4 separate regions of the Homo sapiens genome follow, and regions 1, 2 and 3 are each linked to region 4. The links are contacts of gene promoters, found by promoter capture Hi-C in blood cells and fetal thymus (Javierre and others, 2016). All regions are on one chromosome and are shown on one strand. Each heading gives the region's core, a stretch centred on a gene start or on the middle of the fragment in contact. The rest is flanking DNA. Distances are from core to core; before and after follow the strand shown. Region 1 holds the start of DPF1 (double PHD fingers 1). Region 2 overlaps MAP4K1 (mitogen-activated protein kinase kinase kinase kinase 1). Region 3 overlaps RYR1 (ryanodine receptor 1). Region 4 holds the start of GGN (gametogenetin).

Region 1 (3,244 bases), core at 1-2,500, 160 kb before region 4:
TATCCCTACCTGAACACATGCAGACACACAACACAAATCACACACAGTCACACGGGATTCACACACAAAGAGAGACAAATCCCAATACTCACAAAGGAGAAACAGACAAACCTCACACACGTGCACACATAAATATCTACTGAAAAAGACAAATATCCCAAGTTCCATAGTGTGGAGACAAATCACACAAATAACCATGCACAAAGACACATCACATATCCACAGACACACACCAGAAACACATCACCCACACAAAGACACACAACATGGAAACATCACACCACACACACATACACCCCCTCATGCATCCAAAGACACAAGCATGTCAAAAGACAGGAACTACAGAAACCACTTGCGCCCCTAGGCACTTACCCATGTATCCAAAGACACAACACAAACCACACACACAATATCCAGACACACAACACAAAGAAATCACACAGATTCACACAGGTACACACACACATTTACAAAGATGCACGATGCGCAACCAGTATCTAAAATATCACACATCCACACAGACACACACACATATAAAACACAGAAACAGCCAAATCCACCCATAGTCACACAAAAATTTACACACAAATACACGCAGCCCTACATACCCAAAAACACAGAACACAAGACAAATGACATATAGTTCCAAAGGACACGGACACACACTGGGAGACCCAAATATCCAAAGATATCTAGTGCAGAATAAAAGGAAACAGACACATGTCCACACACCTATCCCCCAAAAATTCTTAAAAAAACCAGAACACAAATAAGTGATACACACACACACTCCACATCCCAAGACAAAGGTAGTGTGGACTTCACTCCAGTTGCCAAGGCCCCCGCACCCCCGGGTCATTTCAGTCTCTCCCAGACCCGAGGGTTGCAGGGAAGGGATGATGTCTCCCTTCCCCAAAAAGAATCTGGAGGCCCCCCACGCCCTCCACCCCGCCAGGGAGCGGTGCATCCGACACCATTCTTGTCAGAGACCCACAGTCACACACTCTCGCACCCCCGCGCAGCCCCGCACTCGGTGACAGCCCCCCAGACACCCCTTCGGCCCCACCCCCGGTCGCCACACACACACAGGCCCGCGTAGACCCGCCCGCGCTTCCTCTCCGCCTCCCGCCGGCCCGCACCACCTCAGGGGGCCAGGGATGACAGTGGCCATCTTGCTCCCCGGGTCCTGCCCCCAGCAGGTCCCCGCCGGGTCGGTCCTCCCAGCGGTCGGGCGGGCGCTGAGGCCGCCCATCCATTCATTCCCGGGGGGCGGGAGCACGAGGGCCACGGCCAATCGCGGCGACGGGGCGGGCCCGCCCGGGCCATGCTGGGAGTGGTAGTCCCAGGCCAGGGGGCCCCCGGGACCCCGCGGGGACGGGACGGCGCGGAGGAGGGGCCCGGGGCACGCACCGTCACTCACCCGCCCTCACTCGTCCACATATCCTGCTCTCGCGTGCACACAACCACATGCACACCTGGACTCGCACACGCCCACGCATGGCAGTTTACACACACATTCACGCGGATACTCACAGCCTCCCACACACTCCTACTCACACACCTTCGCACGGACTCACACAGCCACACGCACACACACTGCAATACTAAGAGACGCAGAGACACCTCCCAGGTGCCCACACAGACTTCTCACCAACATGCTTCCAGCAGACACCCCCTCACCGCCCCCCACCCAAGTCCCTCCTGGCTCCAGAGACCCCACCCGGGGCTGTCTCTCCCAGCAGCCACGCTCACGGTCACCCCGCCCTGCTCAACGCCTTCTGCAGGCCTGACAGCAGCAGTGCAGGTTAGAAACAGTAGTCACACCTCCAGGGTTCAAATCCTAGCTCTGCCACTTGGTGGCCATGTGACCTTGGCAAATGACTTAACCTTTCTGGGCCTCAGTTTCCTCATCTGTAAAAAGAGGATGATGCCTCACTGGAGTGTTGTGAGGATTAAATGAGTAAATATAGGTAAAGCATTTTAAGAGGTGACTGGCAGGCCAGGCGCAGTGGCTCACACCTGTAATCCCGGCACTTTGGGAGGCCCAGGCAGGTGGATCACCTGAGGATGGGAGTTCGAGACCAGCCTGGCCAACATGGTAGTAGTCTCTACTAAAAATACAAAATTAGCCGGGCATGGTGGCGCATGCTTATACTCCCCCACTCAGGAGGCTGAGGCAGGAGAATCACTTGAACTCAGGAGGTGGAGGTTGCAGTGAGCTGAGATCGTGCCATTGCACTCCAGCCTGGGCAACAAGAGTGAGACTCCCTCTCAAAAATAAATAAATAAATAATAAGAAAGAAAGAATAATGCGGCCAGGTGCGATGGCTCCAGTCTGCAATCCCAGTACTTCGGGAGGCCTAGATGAGAGCACTGCTTGAGCCCAGGAGTTTGAGACCAACCTGGGCAACATATCCAGACCCCTGTGTCTACAAAAAAAAATTAAAATTAGCTGGGCATGATGGCGCAGCAGTGTAGTCCCAGCTACTTGCAAGGCTAAAGTGGGAGGATAGCTTGAACCTGGGAGGCTGAGGCTGCAGTGAGCTGTGGTCTCACCACTGCACTCCAGCCTGGGTGGCAGAGCGAGACTCTGTCTCTAAAAGCAAACAAACAAACAAACAAACAAACAAAAAACTAAGTAAGCAGGGCGCCGTGACTCATGCCTGTAATCCCAGCAATCTGGGAGGCTGAGATGAGAGGACCGCTTGAGCTCAGGAGAACAGCCTGGGCAACATAGCGAGACCTGGTCTCTACTAAAAAAAAAATAAATAGCTGGGCATGGTGGCACATGCCTATGGTCCCAGCTACTCAGGAGGCTGAGTCAGGAGGATTGGTTGAACCCAGGAGATCGAAGCTGCAGTGAGCTATGATCACACCACTACACTCCAGCCTGGACAACTGAGCAAGACCCTGTCTCCAAAAAAAAAAAAAAAAATAGATGCTCAGTAGATATTTGTTGAATGAGTAAATGCACCCATCATGTGCTGGGCACAGTTCACCCCGGGATGCTTTTATTATCTGCATTTTCCAGGTGAGGAATCTGAGGCACAGGAAGGTAACCTCACATGCCCGCATGCCCTGGCGGCTCTTTGAAGGTAAGACTGAAGGAAGGAGGCAGGCACCCCTGACGGCCCTCCCCAAGTAGTCCTGACCTCCTTCTCTCTCCCACTGTCACCCACACTGACTCCACCCGAAGAGATCCCCAGGGAGTGAGCAGACCCACTGAGTCACAAACTGACCCAGT
Region 2 (3,015 bases), core at 318-2,817, 200 kb after region 4:
TGGCGCGATCTCGGCTCACTGCAACCTCCGCCTCCCGGGTTCAAGCGCTTCTCCTGCCTCAGCCTCCCGAGTAGCTGGGATTACAGGCATGCAACACCATGCCCGGCTAATTTTGTATTTTTAGTAGAGACAGGGTTTCTCCACATTGGTCAGGCTGGTCTCAAACTCCCGACCTCAGGTGATCCACCTGCCTCGGCCTCCCAAAGTGCTGGGATTACAGGCGTGAGCCACCGCGCCCGACCGGTGGGATACTTCTTATTACAAAGAAAAACAGAGGCTGGGTGCGGTGACCCCTGCCTATAAGCCCAGCACTTTGGGAAGCCTACACAGGTGAATCTCTTGAGTCCAGGAGTTCCAGACCAGGCTAAGTAACATGGCGAAACCCTGTCTGTACAAAAAATACGAAAATAAGCCAGGTGTAGTGGTACGCGCCTGTCATCCCAGCTACCCGGGAGGTTGAGGTGGGAGGACTGATTGAACCCAGGAGGTCGAGGCTGCAGTGAGCCATGATCGCGTCACTGCACTCCAGCCAGGGTGACAGAGAGAGAATCTATCTTTAAAAAAAAAGAAAAAGGGAGAAAAAAGCAACTTCACAGTGGAGAGAACTGGCTGATTCTACCTTAACCAAATGACCGAAGTTAATATCACCAGTAATGGGACAAACTAGCATTGTGTACTTCCTGAAATGATGCACTGAGAAAGACATCTTTCTGCAGTATTCCTGCCCAAAATTCAGAACGTGGAAACCTCAAACACAGTTAAGGGACATTTTAGAAAACAAATTTCCTTTAATTTTTAAAAAGGTCAAAGCTCCTTTAAGACAAAAGAAGTTTTAATTATTTTTTCCGGCTTAATTATAAAGAAACATGGCTCCTAAGTGCCACCTATGATCTTGGACCAGAAAAAAAAAAAAAAAAAAAAAATATATATATATATATATATATATATATATATATATATATATAATCACGGGCGTCACTAGGACAACGGGTGAAATTTTTTGTTGTTGTTGTTGTTGTTTTCTGAGACAGAGTCTCGCTCTGTCACCCAGGCTGGAGTGCAGTGGCGTAATCTCGGCTCACTGCAACCTCCACCTCTCCGATTCAAGTGATTCTCCTGCCTCAGCCTCCCAGCTGGGATTACAGGCACGTGCCACCACACCCAGCTAATTTTTGTATTTTTACTAGAGGTGGGGTTTCTCCATGTTGGCCAGGCCCATCTCCAACTCCTGACCTCAGGTAATCTGCCCACTTCAGCCTCCCAAAGTGCTGGGATGACAGGCGTGAGCCACCACACCTGGCCAACTGGTGAAATTGAGTAGGGGTATGAATTAGAAGGTTGTGATGTTTCAGTGTTGTTTTCTTGATTTTGACAGCTGTGCTGTGGTTTGTAACATTATGTCCTTGCTTTGATTCAGGAAACATACACTGAAGTATTTTAGGGGTAAATGGGCATCACGTCTGCAATTCATTCCCAAATATTCATTAAAAAATCACACACACACACACACACACACACACACACACACATATACTTGTATGTGTGGTGTGTGCGCATAAGAAAGAGAAGAGGCCGGGCATGGTGGCACATGCCTGTAATCCCAGCTACTCGGGAGGCTGAGGCAGGAGGAGTGCTTGAACCCAGGAGTGGGAGGTTGTGGTGAGCTGAGATTATGCCATTGCACTCCAGCCTGGGCAACAAGAGCGAAACTCTGTCTCAAGAAAAGAAAAAAAAAAGAATAATAAGGCAAATGCGGTTAAAAAGATTAACATCTGGCCAGGTACAGTGGCTCACGCCTGTAATCCCAGCACTTTGGGAGGCAGAGGTGGGTGGATCACCTGAGGTCAAGAGTTCGAGACCAGCCTAACCACCATGATGAAAGCCCACATCTACTAAAAAAACAAAAAAATTAGCTGGGCGTGGTGGTGTGCAACTGTAGTCCCAGCTACTCAGGAGGTTGAGACAGGAGACTTGCCTGAACCCGGGAGGCAGAGGTTGCAGTGAGTGGAGATCCACTGCACTCCAGCCTGGGCCACACAGCAAGACTCCATCTCAAAAAAAAAAAAAAAAAAAGATCTGGTTAATCTGGATAAAAGGGATTTTTGCAACTTCTCTGGGAGTGTGAGTTTTAAATTATGTCAAAATAGTTAAAATAGTTATTTTTAATAGTTAAAAATTTTTAATAAGATAAAAATCTAAAATAAAAATGCAGCCAGGGCTGGGCACGGTGGCTCATGCCTGTAGTCCCAGCACTTTGGGAGGCCGAGGCGGGCAGATCACCTGAGATCAGGGGTTCAAGAGCAGCCTGGACAACATGGCGAAAGCCTGTCTCTACTAAAAATACAAAAATTAGCCGGGCACAGTGGCACATGCCTGTAATCCCAGTTACTCGGGAGGCTGAGGCAGGAGAATCGCGTGAACCCAGTGGGTGGAGGTTGTGGTGAGCTGAAATCACGCCACCGCATTCCAGGCTGGGCAACAGAGCAAGAATCCGTCTCAAAAAAAAAAAAAAAATGCAGCCAGGTGTGGTGGCTCATGCCAGTAATCCTAACATTTTGGGAGGCCAAGGTAGGAAGATTGCTTGAGGCCAGCAGTTCAAGGACAGCCAGGGCAACATGGCAAGACCCCGTCTCTACAAAAAAATTTTAAAAATTAGCCAGTTGTGGTGGTGTATGCCTGTGGACCTAGCTACTTGGGAGGCTGAGGTGGGAGGATCAGTTGAGCTCAGAAGGTCAAGACTGCAGTGAGCTGTGTGTGTAACACTGCACTTCAGCCTGCGCAACAGAATGAGACCTTGTCTCAAAAATGAAATAAAATTAAGGCCAGGTGCAGTGGCTCACTCCTGTAATCCCAGAACTTTGGGAGGCCAAGGCAGCTGGATCACCTGAGGTCAGTAGTTTGAGACCAGCCTGGCTAACAAGGCGAAACCCCGTCTCTACTAAAAATACAAAAAATAGCCAAATGTGGTGGTACACACCTGTAAACCCAGCTACTTGGGAGGCTGAAGCATGAGAA
Region 3 (3,233 bases), core at 678-3,177, 150 kb after region 4:
TTGAATTTTCAAAAGCTCTTGTGTCCACAACGAGTTTTTCAAGGTTTATTAAATACCTTTGTGCCATGGGACTAAGATTTTTTCTTTTTTTTTTTTTTTTTTTTAGACAGAGTCTCACTCTTGTCGCCCAGACTGGAGTGCAGTGGTGTGATCACAGCTCGCTGCAACCTCTGCCTCCTGGGCTCAAGTAATCCACCCCTCAGCCTCCCGAGTATCCAGGACTACAGGCATGCATCACCATGTCTGGCTAAGTTTTTTATTTTTTGTAGAGATGAGATCTCACTGTGTTGCCCAGGGGATCTCAAACTCCTGGATTCAAGCAATCCTCCTGCCTTGGCCTCCTAAAATGCTGGGATTACAGGTGTGAGCCACCATACCCAGCCGGGACTAAGATTTTCATTCTTTAATTTTAACTAAGATGGAATCAGTCTTTGGGTTTAAAATAAATTTTATTCCTCAGGAATATGAAGTTTTGAAAATGAGAATGTTGTTATGAAAGGGATTGCTGTCTCCCAACATATTTGCAACCCAGTCCTCGCCTAAATTCATGACCTAATCAAATAGATATTTGAAATATCTTTCAAATCTCAGACCCCTTGCATGTCTTGAGGAGTCAGTGCTATTCAAAGCAGACAAAAGGTTTGTCTCTCACTTATTTGCACATGTCTATAACAGGTGTTGTCAGTTGCCAGAATTTTTTTTACAGGAGCTGTGTATCTTTTATTTTTGCATATAGCCCAATTTAAATTAACACAATTTAATTTAACAATTTAAATTAACACAAATAAAGGAGTTAGAAAGCAGGGTTGATGGGAAAACCTGTACCTTTGCTTATAAAATTTTGAATATTTGAGTATGCTTTGTCTATGTCATGAAACTAGGCAAAATGGGCCTTCTGTTGAGCCAACCTGATAGAGCAATTGTGAACTGACTGTAAAAAAGTTAAGGGGAAAGAAAAACGGGGGGCAAAAATACTTTCAGGGGCTGTTAAAACCTTCCTGTGCAACATGATGTTGCTATAAACATTTAAAAGGACTTGGCTGGGCACTGTGGCTCATGCCTGTAATCCCAGCACTTTAGGAGGCTGAGGCAGGAGGATCACTTGAGCCCAGCAGTTCAAGACAAGTCTGGGCAACATAAGGAGACCCTGTCTCTACCAAAAAAAAAAAAAATCATATACTACAGTATAATAAACCTCCAATCATATACTACAGTATAATAAACCTCCAATCATATACTACAGTATAATAAACCTCCAATCATATACTACAGTATAATAAACCTCCAATCATATACTACAGTATAATAAACCTCCAATCATATACTACAGTATAATAAACCTCCAATCATATACTACAGTGTAATAAACCTCCAATCATATACTACAGTGTAATAAACCTCCAATCATATACTACAGTGTAATAAATCTCCAATCATATACTACAGTGTAATAAACCTCCAATCATATACTACAGTGTAATAAACCTCCAATCATATACTACAGTGTAATAAACCTCCAATCATATACTACAGTGTAATAAACCTCCAATCATATACTACAGTGTAATAAACCTCCAATCATATACTACAGTGTAATAAACCTCCAATCATATACTACAGTGTAATAAACCTCCAATCATATACTAAAGTGTAATAAACCTCCAATCATATACTACAGTGTAATAAACCTCCAATCATATACTACAGTGTAATAAACCTCCAATCATATACTACAGTGTAATAAACCTCCAATCATATACTACAGTGTAATAAACCTCCAATCATATACTACAGTGTAATAAACCTCCAATCATATATTACAGTATAATAAACCCCCAACTACCCATCACTCAGCTTTAACAGTTTGCTTTCACAGAACAATGTTTTTTAAATAGTGGGAACCAACCCATCAGACAGACGTTCATGAATCAGTTTCACGCAGAGGTTCTCATTGTAATTGTACACTGGCATGCCTGGGGAGCTTTAAAAGAGACTTAAGCCCAGGTTTTGCCTTTACAGGTTCTAATTCAATTGATCTGGGGTTGGGCCTGAGCACTGGGGTTTTTAAAAGCCTCCTAGTTGTCCTGATGTGCAGCCAAGGTTGAGAGGATGAGAAGCACACACTTCTTCTTTTGTAGTTAACTAGAGCAGTACAGGACAGAAAAGAACAGAATGCATGGCACAGAGTAAGGCAATGTGAAACTTCTCTTTCGGGAATAGGTGAATATAATTTCAGATTGAACACATGTATCAGGTCTCAATGTAAAAAGGATTTCCTCGGCTGGGTGTGGTGGCTTACACCTGTAATCCCAGCACTTTGGGAGGCCGAGGCAGGTGGATCACAAGGTCAGGAGTTGGAGACCAGCCTGTCCAATATGGTGAAACCCTGTCTCTACTAAAAATGCAAAAAAATTAGCCGGGCGTGGTGGCGCATGCCTGTAATCCCAGCTACTCAGGAGGCTGAGGCAGGAGAATTGCTTGAACCTGGGAGGCAGAGTTTGCAGTGAACTGAGATCATGCCACTGCACTCCAGCCTGGGTGACAGAGCAAGACTGTATCTCAAAAAAAAAAGGATTTCCTACCATAGATTGCAGTCAGAAAAGATTAAAAAATTACTGCACAAGAATATAAACTTCACAAGGGCAGGGGCTGGACATACGGCTCATGTCTGTAATCCCAGCACTATGGGAGGTCAAGGTAGGAGGGTTGCTTGAGGCCAGGAGTTCGAGACCAGCCTGGGCTGGTCTCAACAAAAAAATTAAAAATTGGCCGGATGTGGTGGCTCACACCTATAGTTCCAGCTACCTGGGAGGCTGAGGTGGGAGGACCACTTGAACCCAGGAGGTCAAGGCTGCAGTGAGCTATGATCATGCCACAGTACTCCAACCTAGGCAACAGAGGGAGACCTTGTCAAAAAAAAAAAAAAATCCCCCCCAAGGCCGGGGACTGTTTTTTTTTTTTTTACTACTGTATCCCCAGAGCCTAGAATACTGCATGACACATAGTAAGAACGCAACAAATTTGTTGTAGCAAAGAGGATGTGACAATCTTAATCTCGTGAGGATGTAGTATACACTCAATAAAATATGTTGAATAAATGAACAAGTGACCAATCCATATGTTCCCTGGCCTTTAGTAGGTGCTCAATAAATATTTGTTGGATAAATGCATGAATATCCCCAGCACATAGGAGGAATTTGATAAAATTGTTTGGAAACTAACGAGGAACTGAA
Region 4 (3,052 bases), core at 478-2,977:
CGTCTCCATCACCTCCCTCGGCTTCCTGTGCCCCTCGAGAAACCTCTCCCAAGGGGCGAGCGGCTCCAGGAGGCAGGGGCCCTTGCTTCAGGACCTCGGCGTAAGAGATGGCACCTGAGGCAGCAAAGAGGCCGCCGCCTCCGCCGCCCCCCAGCGAAGCTTTGGCTGCTAAGGAACTCGAGGCTGCCGGAGGGGCCAAAGAGGGCCTCGACTTGAAGGTGATTTTACACAGCAGGCTCAGACCGGACTCGGAATCCGCAGGCTGGGCCATTTCGCCTTCGCCCGCATGGGGAGGCGCCCCTCCGCGAGCCCTGCCGGCCGTCTGGCCCTGGTTGCGGGGCCCAGCCTGGCTTTCTGTCGGGGGTGAGGCGGGTGTGGCCAGAGCAGGAGTGATTCTGCGGTCCGCCGGCTGCCGTTCAGAAGGTAATGGTGGTGGCGGCTTCCAAGTCTCCAGGGGCGGCGGAAATTGGGATGGGGCCCTCGGGACAGTGTCCTTCACGGATAGTTGCCGGGGCGGCGGCGGCGGCTTCAGCGGGCGGAGGCTCGGAGGGTCGCCCTGGCCGCGATGGCTCGCCTCCAGCAGGCGGCGGATCCGGGGAACTGGAGTGCCCGCGGGCTTTTGCCATTTAGACGGGCCGGGCAGCAGAGTCCCCGCGGGGGCCGGGGGTGGTGCAGAGACCGCGGCCGCCTCTTCAGGAGGGGGCATCACTGGAGAGGGCCGTTCTAAGGTGAGGGGCAGGGTCGAGGGTGAGGCCTGGGGCTCCCGGGGTACCATGAGTCCCGGGGGTGTGGCGCTGCCAGGGAACCAGACACCCAGCCCACGAGTCAGGCGCATGGCCTGGGAGGTCATCTCGGGCTCCACCAGGGACGTCCGGCGGGAGTCGGGGGCGCGGTCCGAGGGCTGCACTTTTCGGGAGCCCCCGCCCGCGGATGGCTCCGACTGCAAGTTCCCCATTTCTGACGGAGCTCGGAGACTAGTCAGAAAAATTTACTCCAGTCAGCCTGCCAGGGCCGTGGGGACCCTACGAGGCTGGCTGTACTTGATCTAATGCGTCCGCACCGGCCCCGCCCCTGTTCTCCAAGATCCGATCAGGCCCAAGTCCTTAGGTCGCACTCCTGTTCCCCGACCTTCGACACTCACGCCTTCTTGCCCATGTCCCCAACACAGCTGCTGTTAAGATACTTCACTACCAGCCCCATTATGTACTAAGGTTCCATGCCTGTCCCCTTGGCTGGTCATGCTGATCCCTCAGTCCTCTCCTCTAACTCTCCGACTCCCCGCCTCTCTCTAGAGCACCTGGGTCCCGCCCTCTTCCCAGGCAGGGGCAGATCCTCAGGCCTCACCCCTAAACCTCTTCCCGCTCCAGGTCTACTAGCTGGCATCCACAGTCAAGCTCCACCCCTGTCCCCAAGCTCCGCCCTGGCCCCGCCTCCCCCCAGAGGAACCCACTCACCGAGTCCTCCAGCCGAGCAGAGTTCAGACCGCGGCGCCCTGGGCCCGGGGCAGGGCAGGGAACTGCCGTAGCAGAAAATAACCGAAAAGAACGGGGGTGCGGGTGAAGGCAAGTGGGCGAGACAACTAGGGCGGACCCCGAGATGTAGGCCCCGCCCCCGGAGCTCGAGGCCCCGCCCTCCTGCGAGCCCGCGGGAGCCCGGCCCCTTACGAACCTAGGTCTCCCCTTGAAATACTCCGAGGTCTTGTTCCTCGCCCCCAGGCCTTCTGGTTCTAAGCTCCACCCCTTTGGGTTGTTCTCCTTAGCCCCTCCCCTTTAGAATGTCCCGCCCCTCTCATTCCCTCCCGAGGCCCCGCCCACGCGAACACCGATGCGTCGCTCCTCCCCTTTGGACCTCTCATCTGCCCCGCCCCTAAGGCAATTTACCTCTAAGCTCCGCCTTTTTAAGACCCGGCAACATCGCTTCTCAAGACCCTCTCCTTCCCCCCGGGCGCCGAGAAGGCCCATCCACCGTGGGCCCGCCCCTTCGTGACGCACGCACTAGTCCTCGCCTGCAGCATCCAAACCTCCTTATACCCAGGCCCTCCAACCCCACCCACTTGTGAAGGCTCCCCTCTCGCCCCACCCCTTATCGAACTCTGCCAGGCACCCAAGCCACAGCGTAGACCACCACCTCTTTAGAACCTTGAGACCAGTCCCTGTCCCTGCCCCGTCCCCTCCTCATAGCATTAGAGACCAATGGCGCAGATGGGTGGAAAAGTGGGGGATCCCCTCTGGATCTTAAGAAAATGGGGGCTGGGGGGTTGCTCTCTGGAGCTAGTGCCGGGCTCTAGGACCCAGCAGGCAAGTAAGCCCGCCTCGCTCTTACCCCTCCCCCAAGCCGCCCCTTCCCCCCCCACCCGTCTTCCAGGTTCCCCCTCCCTCCCCCCTCGCCCCGGCTCCCGGTGCCCGTCTCCAGCGCCGCCGGAGCCAGCCAGGGAGCCGGAACGAAAAGGAGGAGGAGGAGGCCGCGTCGCCGCCGCTCGGAGCCCGGCCGGAGCCTCGCAGGCAGGTGCCGAGGGGGGCGAGGGGGCGGGGGCTGACAGACTGCCTGCCCCGATGAGGGGGCGGCCGTGACCGCGCTGCGCCTTCTGCCCACCCAGGCGCCCCCAAGGCCCCGGCTAGGAGGACTAGAGAGTGGGGACCCCCCAAACTGCGCGGCAGCCATTCAGGGTACCAGTCTTCATTTGTGGGGTCTGGACTTTCTCCGAGGATGCCCCATTCACAAAATTCCGTCCTGGACCCTCACCGTTGAGGAACGCTGAGGACCACTCCCCCCGGGGGACACAGGATGTGTGGGGAGCGTAGGCCACCCTGAAATGCCAGTGCCCCATTCCAGCTAGGCCCTGGGGGGACCCCTGCTCTCATTCCCTGCTTCACCTGTTGTCGGGGGAGGCGGGCGGACAAAGGAAGCAGCGTCACGTGACTGCTCATTCACAAAATCCCATCCCATTGAGAAAAGGGGGCTGGGGGCGCTGCAGCCGCCCCTTCCCCTCCTGAAGGGCCCGGGAAACCCAGCAGCCTGCAGGTGGGGGAGGGGGCTAGAGCTCGTCCGGGTC

The links. Contacts are between HindIII fragments. The CHiCAGO score rates a contact against its expected background, and 5 or more counts as called.
Region 1: the fragment with the promoter of DPF1 here is called in contact with the fragment with the promoter of GGN in region 4 in 1 of 17 cell types (megakaryocytes); the score reaches 5.6 in megakaryocytes.
Region 2: a contact is called between a fragment that was not itself captured here and the fragment with the promoter of GGN in region 4, in 2 of 17 cell types (neutrophils and non-activated CD4 T cells). The highest score is 6.2, in neutrophils.
Region 3: a fragment that was not itself captured here is called in contact with the fragment with the promoter of GGN in region 4 in 10 of 17 cell types (monocytes, M2 macrophages, activated CD4 T cells and 7 more); the score reaches 7.7 in monocytes.

Annotation. Positions count from the first base shown.
Region 1 is chr19:38,222,972-38,226,215 of GRCh38, forward strand. It overlaps DPF1 (double PHD fingers 1), which reads right to left and starts at 1,251. Exons shown (of 12, transcript NM_001135155.3): 1 at 1,143-1,251. The coding sequence starts at 1,171. RefSeq lists a silencer at 1,016-1,585. The HindIII fragment of the contact is 14,724 bases long and covers 1-3,244 here.
Region 2 is chr19:38,589,473-38,592,487 of GRCh38, forward strand. All of the region lies in intron 30 of MAP4K1 (mitogen-activated protein kinase kinase kinase kinase 1), which reads right to left. Among named protein-coding and RNA genes, the nearest start is that of MAP4K1-AS1, 5.4 kb to the right of the region's middle. The HindIII fragment of the contact is 6,157 bases long and covers 1-3,015 here.
Region 3 is chr19:38,539,155-38,542,387 of GRCh38, forward strand. All of the region lies in intron 84 of RYR1 (ryanodine receptor 1), which reads left to right. Among named protein-coding and RNA genes, the nearest start is that of MAP4K1-AS1, 56 kb to the right of the region's middle. The HindIII fragment of the contact is 8,158 bases long and covers 1-3,233 here.
Region 4 is chr19:38,386,307-38,389,358 of GRCh38, forward strand. GGN (gametogenetin) reads right to left here and starts at 1,728. Exons shown (of 4, transcript NM_152657.4): 1 at 1,669-1,728; 2 at 1,455-1,516; 3 at 1-974. The coding sequence starts at 955. It overlaps SPRED3 (sprouty related EVH1 domain containing 3), which reads left to right and starts at 2,391. Exons shown (of 6, transcript NM_001394336.1): 1 at 2,391-2,501. RefSeq lists a silencer at 1,524-1,763. The HindIII fragment of the contact is 15,577 bases long and covers 158-3,052 here.